Linked DNA regions of Homo sapiens: regions 1 and 2 are each linked to region 3. Evidence: promoter capture Hi-C in 16 types of primary human blood cells and fetal thymus (Javierre and others, 2016). All regions are on one chromosome and are shown on one strand. Each heading gives the region's core, a stretch centred on a gene start or on the middle of the fragment in contact. The rest is flanking DNA. Distances are from core to core; before and after follow the strand shown. Region 1 overlaps HK2 (hexokinase 2). Region 2 holds the start of DGUOK-AS1 (DGUOK antisense RNA 1). Region 3 holds the start of WBP1 (WW domain binding protein 1).

The links. Contacts are between HindIII fragments. The CHiCAGO score rates a contact against its expected background, and 5 or more counts as called.
Region 1: a fragment that was not itself captured here is called in contact with the fragment with the promoter of WBP1 in region 3 in 1 of 17 cell types (neutrophils); the score reaches 5.9 in neutrophils.
Region 2: a contact is called between the fragment with the promoter of DGUOK-AS1 here and the fragment with the promoter of WBP1 in region 3, in 7 of 17 cell types (naive CD8 T cells, activated CD4 T cells, non-activated CD4 T cells and 4 more). The highest score is 7.8, in naive CD8 T cells.

The regions. Positions count from the first base shown.
Region 1 is chr2:74,869,865-74,873,125 of GRCh38, forward strand. It overlaps HK2 (hexokinase 2), which reads left to right. Exons shown (of 18, transcript NM_000189.5): 4 at 2,436-2,555. Among named protein-coding and RNA genes, the nearest start is that of HK2, 37 kb to the left of the region's middle. The HindIII fragment of the contact is 5,523 bases long and covers 1-3,261 here.
Region 2 is chr2:73,979,783-73,983,142 of GRCh38, forward strand. DGUOK-AS1 (DGUOK antisense RNA 1) reads right to left here and starts at 1,657. Exons shown (of 2, transcript NR_104030.1): 1 at 1,353-1,657. The HindIII fragment of the contact is 8,489 bases long and covers 16-3,360 here.
Region 3 is chr2:74,456,806-74,460,080 of GRCh38, forward strand. It overlaps WBP1 (WW domain binding protein 1), which reads left to right and starts at 1,633. Exons shown (of 4, transcript NM_012477.4): 1 at 1,633-1,866; 2 at 2,838-2,940; 3 at 3,068-3,244. The coding sequence starts at 1,798. It overlaps INO80B (INO80 complex subunit B), which reads left to right. Exons shown (of 5, transcript NM_031288.4): 5 at 529-1,139. The coding sequence ends at 1,059. It overlaps INO80B-WBP1 (INO80B-WBP1 readthrough (NMD candidate)), which reads left to right. Exons shown (of 8, transcript NR_037849.1): 5 at 529-1,055; 6 at 2,838-2,940; 7 at 3,068-3,244. RefSeq lists enhancers at 436-505, 1,004-1,510, 1,136-1,285, 1,511-2,018, 1,956-2,065 and a silencer at 646-885. The HindIII fragment of the contact is 3,318 bases long and covers 1-2,080 here.

The DNA.
Region 1 (3,261 bases), core at 678-3,177, 410 kb after region 3:
ACTTCTTGCAGCAATGGAACTGTCTCCTATCTTCCCTGTGCAATATGATAGGCACTGACCCTGTGGCATCGAGCCCTTGAAGTGTGGCTGGTGTGACGGAGGAACTGAATTTTTAAGGTCTTTTTTCTTTTCTTTTCTTTTTTTTTTTTTTTTTTGAGACAGTCTCACTCTGTCACCCAAGCGTGACACCCAAGAGTGCGGTGGCACCATCCCGGCTCTCTGCAATTTCTGCCCCCCAGGTTCAAGCGATTCTCCTTCCTCAGCCTCCCGAGTAGCTGGGACTACAGGTGTGCACCACCAGGCCCGGCTAATTTTTTGAATTTTTAGTAGAGACAGCTAATTTTTTGAATCACCATGTTGGCTTTGAGCTTCTGACCTCAAGTGATCTGCCCGTCTTCGCCTCCCGAAGTGCTGGGATTACAGGCAGGAGCCACTGCGCCGGCCTGTTTTAAAAATTCTAATTAATTGACATAGCCACAGATGGCCAGTGGCTACTATATTGGGCAGGGCAGTATTTAATGCTTCTTCACGGTCTATTTTTCTCTACCTTCCTATGTTAGGAGCGCAACTGGAAAGAAAGCAGTGATCAGAGCTGGGGGAGGAGAAACCATTTTGCTTTTCCCCCTTCTAACCCCCACCTCCAGTCTTTGATGATTGGCCTTATCTCTTTGCACAACTTCTGCATCTCCCTTTTTTTTTTTTTTTTTTTTTGGGATAAAAACTATTTGTACTAAAGATCATTTTGACTAGAGTGCCAGGAAGAAGGTGCTGGGAATTTGTTTAATATACGTATCATATAATTCATCTCTAGTCACCTTCCCGACAGAACAGAATTTGCTGAATATATCCCTATTTTCATGTTAAAATACTTGAACTCTGTTCAAGGGAGTTGGCTCACCTGCACTGGTGATCCCCATGGCAAGAGAGCCTTGTCCTCCCCAGCCTTTGCTCTTGAAAATGTTTTGGTTTGGAGGTCGAAGGTTCAGCCTCAGCTGTTGTTAACTTTGCATGGGATCAGACAGAGGGACAGACAGAATGGATGTGGGAAGTTTAGTTAGATCTGGCCATCTTCCAGATTGGGGTGGCCTTGTCTTCCTGGGTCCCTCCTGCTGACCATACCCTAGGCATCAGGAGATCCAACAGGTCTGTCAGTTTCCCTCTCCCAACCTCTCAGTTCCTTTATAAATGTAAGAACTTTCTGTGGTTTGGCATAGTGGTTCTCAACCTACTGCTCCAGGATCACCTGGAGGGCGGAAGGCTTGCTAACAGATGGCTGGGCCCCACCCCCAGAGTTTCTGCTATAGTCGGTCTGTGGGGGCGGGCCTAGACCCTAGAATGTACATTTCTAACATGTTCCCAGGTTAAGGGAGTGAGGTTGCTGTTCCAGGAGCACACTTTGAAAAGCCATGGTTTAGTCGAATCTTCTTGCACCTTCCTGGATAGGAAAAGGATAGTTGACCTCTTATCCACCTTGGCTTTTAGATTTTGCCACGTAGTCAACCTGGCCCTTGGAATCTGCCCAGCCTCTTTGGCCTCTGCTTACTTTTTACACCTGAATGCCTCTAGTCTCAGCCTTCACCTAAAGGGTCAGCAGCTTCTCTTTGAGCGTGTAGGGTGGGGCAAGAAGGACGCCAGGGGATTGTGGGCTTTGGGGCTGATTGAAAGCCTGGCTTATTATGAATACAGCTTTTTTAAGGCTTAGGAGCTCTGGGTCCTGCACAGTGAGTGCGTGCGGTCACGGTTGTGAGGCTGCTCACCCACAAAATGTGATTTATTTCTCAGCGCTCTTCATGGACTTACTGGATGTTCTGTTTAGAAAGTTAGAAAACAAAGATAACTTCTTTGAATTGCCCTCAGGAGATTAGTTTTCTAGAATGGAGAAAAAAATATAAAAATTACTTGTTTTTGTTAAGTTGGTTCATAGAATGCCAACAGAGAATGCTGTCCCTGCAAACCACCCCCCACCCCATCACCAGAGACAGGGATACTAAAATACTTCTTGGCAGCAAGATGGGCTGGCCTTTGGTATGATCGTCAACTGGGCTTCCATGTCAATGGGTTTCTGACAGGGCCACCAAAGAATGTTCTGTTCCCCGGGCATGAAGTGACTTTCTGATTAATGTTGGCCATGATTTCCCCTACCTCACAGGGTTATCTTGACAGCAGTTTAGAAAAATGGCTTAAGTAGAGGACAATATTTAGTGGGCAAAAACTAATGTTAAGCCTTTATGTATTGACTCATGTACTCCTTTTCATAACTCCATGAGGACAGGTCCAGTTATAATTCCCTTTTTGTAGGTGAGCAAATGAAGATATCAGAGGAGATATGGGTTTTGCACACATTCAGCTAGTTACGTGCTGAGCCTGAAGTGCATGCCCTTAATCTCTATGCTGTTCGACCTCTCTGCTCACCACCCTGTGTCATGTATCCTTAGCTGTTTGACCACATTGCCGAATGCCTGGCTAACTTCATGGATAAGCTACAAATCAAAGACAAGAAGCTCCCACTGGGTTTTACCTTCTCGTTCCCCTGCCACCAGACTAAACTAGACGAGGTAAGATGGGCTCCTCAGACACTTGTTGCTTCACTCTTGGGGCTGGGAGGGCTGAGAGGGACTTCTGAGCCACCTGCTGTGGTGGTGGTGGTAGCACTGGAGGATTGTGGAGATGAAGTTCTGCCTTTCTGGGTGACTGTGTATGTCGATGGGGGGGCTGGTGAAGAAATCTGGGGGGTTGGGAGTGCCCTTTATCACCCTCTCTCCCACACACATTGCACAGTATCCTTATCCCCTCCACAGAAACAGGAATGAGAAATCAGGAACTCCCCAGTCTAAAGTGTTATGATAAAGACCCTTGGAAGAAAGATACTTGGAGAGTTAATGATGTAAGGACACAAGTACAGTCATGTATTGCATAACAATGGGGATATGTTCTGAGAAATGCTTTATTAGGTGATTTCACTTATGTATAAACATCATAGAGTGCACTTACACAAACCTAGATGGTATAGACTACTACACACCTAGGCTGTATGGGACAGCCTGTTAACTCCTAGGCCACAAATCTGTATAGCATGTTACTGTACTGAATGCTATAGGCAATTGTAACACAGTGATATCTGTGTATCTAACTAGGCAATAGGAACTTTTCAGCTCTATTATAATCTTGTTACCACCGCAGTATACACAATCTGTCACTGACTGAAACATTGTTATGCGGCACATGACTGTGTCTTATAGTGCCAGTTGTCCTGAGTTTCTT
Region 2 (3,360 bases), core at 407-2,906, 480 kb before region 3:
TCACTTCCAGGGAAAAGCTTTAAGAGCCAGTGCTAGATTTGCCCCATTCTTGTTTCCTGCCTTCAGGGTTGAGGAGATGCATGTCCAGTTGCAGCAGCCTGGATGCCCGAGTGATTACGGGAAACAGAGCTCCTAATGACTCATAATGGACACGTTTTGTGATTGAGAAATACACTTTTGTTATGTAAAGCCACTGTGATTTGGGGATTGTCTATTACTCCAGCACAATCTAACTGATCCTGACTGATACACCCTGTCAACCAAGGCTCAGGGGCACCAAGGCCTTTATCCCTGTTGGGTATTCCTTCCATTATGATGGGTACCCTTGCATTCTCCTTGCAAGTAATGAAGCCTATTTGATTCAAAAAATTCAAAATGCAGTCACAAAACTAGTTATAAAACATGAGGACATTTGCGGGGCTATTGAAAAACGTAGTAGCCGGGCGCGGTGGCTCACTCATGTAATCCCAGCAGTTTGGGAGGTCGAGGTGGGTGGATCATGAGGTCAGGAGTTCAAGACCAGTCTCTACTAAAACTACAAAAATTAGCTGGGCGCGGTGGCAGGTGCCTGTAATCCCAGCTACTCGAGAGTCTGAGGCAGGAGAATCATTTGAACCTGGGCAGCAGAGGTTACAGTGAGCCCAGATCGCGCCACTGCACTTCAGCCTGGGTGACAAGAGTGAGACTCCATCTCAAAGAAAAAAAAAAAACCAAAACCCAAAACCAAAACAAAACAAAAAACCCAAAAACGCATAGCATAGATATCCTACACGTGTCACACTCACCAATGCAGGTCCACAAGCAACCCACTAATGAACCTCCCTTTCCCTGAGAGCAAAATGCCAGCTTCTGCCTGGTATCAGCTCTAGCATTCGTGGGCTAATTTCAGAGGTCCTGGATTGTAGGTCCTGGATTCTGACATGTAGTAGTGAATGACCTTGGACAAATTACCTCACTGAGCGCCAGTTCTCTTATCTGTAAAATGGTGATGATAATAAAAACTATGTCATAGATAAGGAAAGTTAACATTTGCACATTTGTTGTATTTGCCACTCTGTGCAGACAGAAGGATAATGTGTGTGGAAGTGCTTTGAAAAGGGAAAGATCTATGCAAATATTAGTTGATAATATTTTTAGCCAATACATGACCAAAGAAGTAATACATCCAAAATCAAATAAACCTCCCAATACCTTCAGTCTTTAAAACCAAGCCCAGGTATGGATATCGGGATGTATTTACATTTCTGCAAAAGGTCCCCATACGCAAATCTCATTCTTAAATAAGGACAAATTACTCATTAGCTGAAGAGGAGAGAGGTCAAGTACCTGAGGAGGTTAGTCACATCAATCACCTGAGAGTTCAGCAGCATCCAACAGTGTTAGTTCCACGTGTTAACTTCCTGAAGAACCACAGGCTTGCACATCCAATTATGCTTCCTGTCCCTTTCCTCCCCCGTGCGGAATCAACTTCAGCTCATCAATGGGGTAGGAAAGCCTCCTTATTTCGCACCCTCCATGCTCCAGGCATCCAGGGAAATGCCCCTGCCACCCCTATCTCCCTTGAGTTCTTAGGGCTTCCTCCTCTAGCAAGGAGATTTCCCTTTCTAGTCCCGGGGGCAGCGGCACAGCCCGGCTCTGACCTCGCGGGAGCAGTCGCCTAAAAGAGGCTCCGCCCTTGGCCGCTTGGGGTGGCGCCCGCCAAACCCGCTCCTAAAAGGAGCCTCTCTCCCTCTGTCTGCTCTAAGCGCCTTGGGGGCCTAATCGCAGTCTCCACCTGGGTGCTGAACTTCCTTCTCCCCCGCTTGCTGTAGTCCAGTGCTGCTCTAACTTGACTTCACCTGACGGACTAATTAAAACAGATTGCTGGGCCCGCCCCCAGGGTTTCTGATTCAGTGGGGTTAGGATGGGGCCGAGAGCTTGCATTTCTAGCCAGTTCCCAGGAGATGGTGATGCTGCTGGTGCCGGGGCTCTCTTGGCGGAACCACTGCGTCTAGGCTAATGCAGCCCCAGGAAGGGCTCGCCCTATCCCTACGCCCACCCCCGCTGCTCTCCTGCCCTGAGCGCAATGTGAATGGGAATAGCCGCAGCAGCCCAGGAGGCTGGAGAACCAGAAGGCAGGACCTGAGGAGTTTAGGCTGTTTTATCTTGGGCGCCCCTGACCAGTTTGTGCAAGTCGTAAAGAAAGCAGGAAAGAAGCCTATGGGTCTTCAGTGTTACTGGGGTCTGTCATTCATTAGGGTCTACTCACCTCGTCTCTTCATTCAACACAGTGGTTGGTTGCTAGGTCTAGGGTTATGAGGTGAAAGACAGCGTGCTACCCTTCCAGGAGTTTGTAGTAACTGGGAAAGAAACATGCAAACCATTCCAGTGCCCAGCGCCGATGAGATAACTGTTCCTAGGCAGGGAGAGTCAAACTTCTGTGGAGGGAGAGTGGGTGGGGCTCTGGAATCATCTGAGCAGCTGGAGGTTTCATGGAACTGGCACTTATGACTTGCAGGATGAGTGGGAATTTGGCAGGTACAAGGGGTAGCTGAGAAGGGGTGGGGTGGGAAGGGTTTTTCCCCAGGCAGAAGGAATGAGCAACAGGACTGCCGAAGTGTAAGGTTCCAGAGGCCGGGAAGATATGACAGGCAGCTCTCTAGCCTGGCTGGGTTCCCTCCAACCTCTCTGGCGGCGCCTTCTCAGCTCCTGTCCCTCATGGGCTGGTATTCCCTGGGGCTCTGTCCTGGCAGCCTTTCCCTCTCACACTCCATATCCACCCTGGATGAGCTCCTCCACAACTGAGGCCTCGCTGTCTGCTCACTGATGGGGCCCAAATCTCAAACCCAGGCCTCACCCCCTCAGTTGCACACTCACTTTCACACGAATGTCTCCATCCCCAGGCATCCTTCCTTCTGCATTTTGTCACAGTGAATGGCACCAGCATTCACCCAGTTACCTAAACGAGAGGGCTTTATGAAATGACCCTCTCATAGATTGCTGGCAAAGAGTAAATGACACAGTAACTTGCTGGTGCCATTTACCCAGACAGAATACAAGAGGATGGCTGCTGGGCTCCTCTGAAAGTCCACAACTTACTAGCTGAGTGATCCTGGGCAAGTTATTTAATCTGTTTTCTTATCCATAAAATGGGTTTGATGATAGTACCTACCTCACAAGGTTGTCATATGGATTAAACAATATTAGTTGTTGTCATTCATTGAGCCCTATATTAAGTCTTTTACTTGGATTCCCTTGAAGATGGAGTACCTAGTCCAAGGTCACACTGTTACCAAGTGGCAGATTCAGGTTTGGAAGCCAGAGTTCTCTGGCTCCTGAGCCATCTTCTTCACCTCACTGTCACACTTTCTGAAAACTGTA
Region 3 (3,275 bases), core at 383-2,882:
AGCTGTTGAAGTAATCAGCTGAGAGGCAGTGGTTGCTTTAACCAAGACGAAAGTGGTGGAGATGGAGAAAATCAGATGAATTATGGCTATATTTTGGAAGTAGATACTTGTGGGGAGGGGAATGGAGAGAAAATATATCAAGGCTAAGCCTGGGATTTTGGCTTGAGCAGTTATCCACCTGATACTCTCTATTGAGATAAGATTAAAAATAACAACAGACCTCTGGGAAAGCTGGTACAGTTTTGGTGCACAGGTCAGGCAGGTAACATTACTGATGCTTCTCCCCTTGAGAGATAAGGACCTAAAGCTAAATGTCAGGAGATCTGGGAGGAGGCAGTATTTATGAAGAGGAACCTATGGAAGGTGTCCTGGAGAGGGTGCTCATTAATTAATATCCCGCCTCCGAAGGCCTGCACTGCTCAAGACCCTGCCTTCCATGTCCCTTCTTTCCCCTCCCCCGATCTGGCCGACCTCGCCTCTCCATCTTCCTCCATTTTCAGACAGCACCCCGTCTCTGTCTCTCCCTAGCGAGCTCTGCTCCAGAAGGCGCGGAGTCAACCTTCCCCTATGCTGCCGCTGCCTGTAGCTGAGGGCTGCCCACCTCCCGCCCTCACAGAGGAGATGCTGCTGAAGCGCGAGGAGCGGGCGCGGAAGCGGCGGCTCCAGGCGGCGCGGCGGGCAGAAGAGCACAAGAACCAGACTATCGAGCGCCTCACCAAGACTGCGGCGACCAGTGGGCGGGGAGGCCGGGGGGGCGCACGGGGCGAGCGGCGGGGAGGGCGGGCTGCGGCTCCGGCCCCCATGGTGCGCTACTGCAGCGGAGCACAGGGTTCCACCCTTTCCTTCCCACCTGGCGTCCCCGCCCCCACGGCAGTGTCTCAGCGGCCATCCCCCTCAGGCCCGCCGCCGCGCTGCTCTGTCCCCGGCTGTCCCCATCCGCGCCGCTACGCTTGCTCCCGCACAGGCCAGGCACTCTGTAGTCTTCAGTGCTACCGCATCAACCTGCAGATGCGGCTGGGGGGGCCCGAGGGTCCTGGATCCCCCCTTTTGGCTACGTAAGGCCCTTAACCCGGACTCTGCGCCCCGTCCCATGCCCGCTCTTGAGTATCTTCCCCACCCTATTAAATTACATCCGGTGCTTCGGCTTGTACAGAACTGGGGGAGTGGGATGTTGTGGGCAGACCAGTCTCCGGTATACACGTATTTTGCCCCTGTCGGAGCTTGCGTCGATGCCTGGGGCTTGGAAACCACCGCAAAAAACCAGGCTGCAAACCAGCGGACCGACTTTTGGGACTCCGCCTCTTCCAGCCGGGATTACCTGGCGTGCTTCGGCCTTTGGCGTCATTCCGAAAACATACCGCAAGCCAATCAGCGGCAACCTTGCTCTTCGGGGCGGCTGTTCGTTGGTTGATATGCCAGAGCCTGTTCTGTTGTCTGTATTGGCTATTGCCGCTGTCAGTCAGGGCCGTGGGTCGAACCTTCACCTACTCTTTGTCTGTACAAGCTCTTGTTGTCTGGGTGAGCGGCGGAGGCGCTGCTGTGGATTGGTCACAGGGAGAAACCTCTGATCTGTTCCTATTGGCCCGTCCGTCAAGGGACGATGATGATTGGTAGGGCAGAGCAATCTGAGTCCTAGTTGGTGGAGTTCTGCCCGGATGGAAGCTCCGGCCGCGGAGTGATGGTGGCCTCAGCGAAGATGGGCCGGGCAGGGACCATGGCGGTGGCAGCAGAGGTGGCAGGGGCGGGGCGGCTGGCGGTAGAGGAGGCTGTGGTCCTCAGGGGGCTGTAGGTGGAGGTATGGCTCGGGCCAGCAGCGGGAACGGCAGCGAGGAGGCCTGGGGGGCACTTCGGGCGCCGCAACAGCAGGTATCCCAATAGCTCCAAAACCTATCACGACAGCCATTTGTCTCTTTCCCCTTTCCTTGTCCCTTCCTTTTGGGGGTGGGGGAGGAACTCACGGAGCCAAAGGTACTGTGAAGTTCCTAAACATGTCTCTTCCACTCTTTGTCTAAACTTTGTAACGTAGATGCAGCTGACTTTGCCTGTAGCCTCATAGAACCCATCCCATGGCTGCAGTGGAAGCTTGCGGTGGCTCTCCAGTGACCAGAGGCATAGTGAGGTCCCAGGGAGGCTCCCTCTGTCTTGCAACAGTTATTTGTGATCTTTTTCTATGTGCCTATTGTCACAACAGAGTCCGGCAGCGTCTTCTCTTGAGGGAGCAATTTGGAGAAGAGCTGGAACCCAGACTCGCGCCCTGGATGCCATCCTTTATCATCCACAGCAATCCCATCTGGTTGGGAGCACTGCTCTGGGTCTCACACTGCCCCTCCTCTATCCTAGGGAGCCTGAGGCCCAGGGGTGGAAAGATCCAGTTGCGGGTGGGGGGTAGTGAACCGCGCAGGATAATGAAAGCAACTTGCTTTGGAAATGACCTACCGCTACCCGTTGTCTGAGACTGAGATTATCTCAGACTGTCTTCTGGCTTCTGCCAAAACACTCCCTTAACAGAAAGCACCGAGGGGATGGGGGTAGGGGGGTTGGGGAGAGTGAGGCTTGAGTGTGAAGGAAGTCTCATATATGCAGAGCTGAAATCTCCCTCTTTGTATGTCCACACTTTTGTCTTGTTCTCTAGACTGATTCTTGCTATTCCAAATCCTCTTCCACGTTGACAGCCCTTCAGATATTTCAACACTCCTCTCAGCATCCTCCACTTCCCCCATCTCTCCAAGCTGAACTTGGTTCACAGGGTGGGATTGTGTATGTGCATGCAGGAGGTGGGGGTGGACAGTGCCCTGGGCTGGAATCCCCCTTAGTTCTAAGTGCCTCCTTGCCCGCAGCTTCGAGAGCTGTGCCCAGGAGTGAACAACCAGCCCTACCTCTGTGAGAGTGGTCACTGCTGCGGGGAGACTGGCTGCTGCACCTACTACTATGAGCTCTGGTGTAAGTCTCCAAGAGGGCTATTTCCAGGTCCCTGTGTCCACCCTCCCTTGGACCTCAGAATTTCGGCCTTCAGGGCCCCTTCTCTGCATGAAAGATGCCTGAGTTGCTCCCTCCTTGCCTCTTGCAGGGTTCTGGCTGCTCTGGACTGTCCTCATCCTCTTTAGCTGCTGTTGCGCCTTCCGCCACCGACGAGCTAAACTCAGGCTGCAACAACAGCAGCGGCAGCGTGAAATCAACTTGTTGGCCTATCATGGGGCATGCCATGGGGCTGGTCCTTTCCCTACCGGTTCACTGCTTGACCTTCGTGAGTGACTTGATGCCCTGGGTCAGCTACC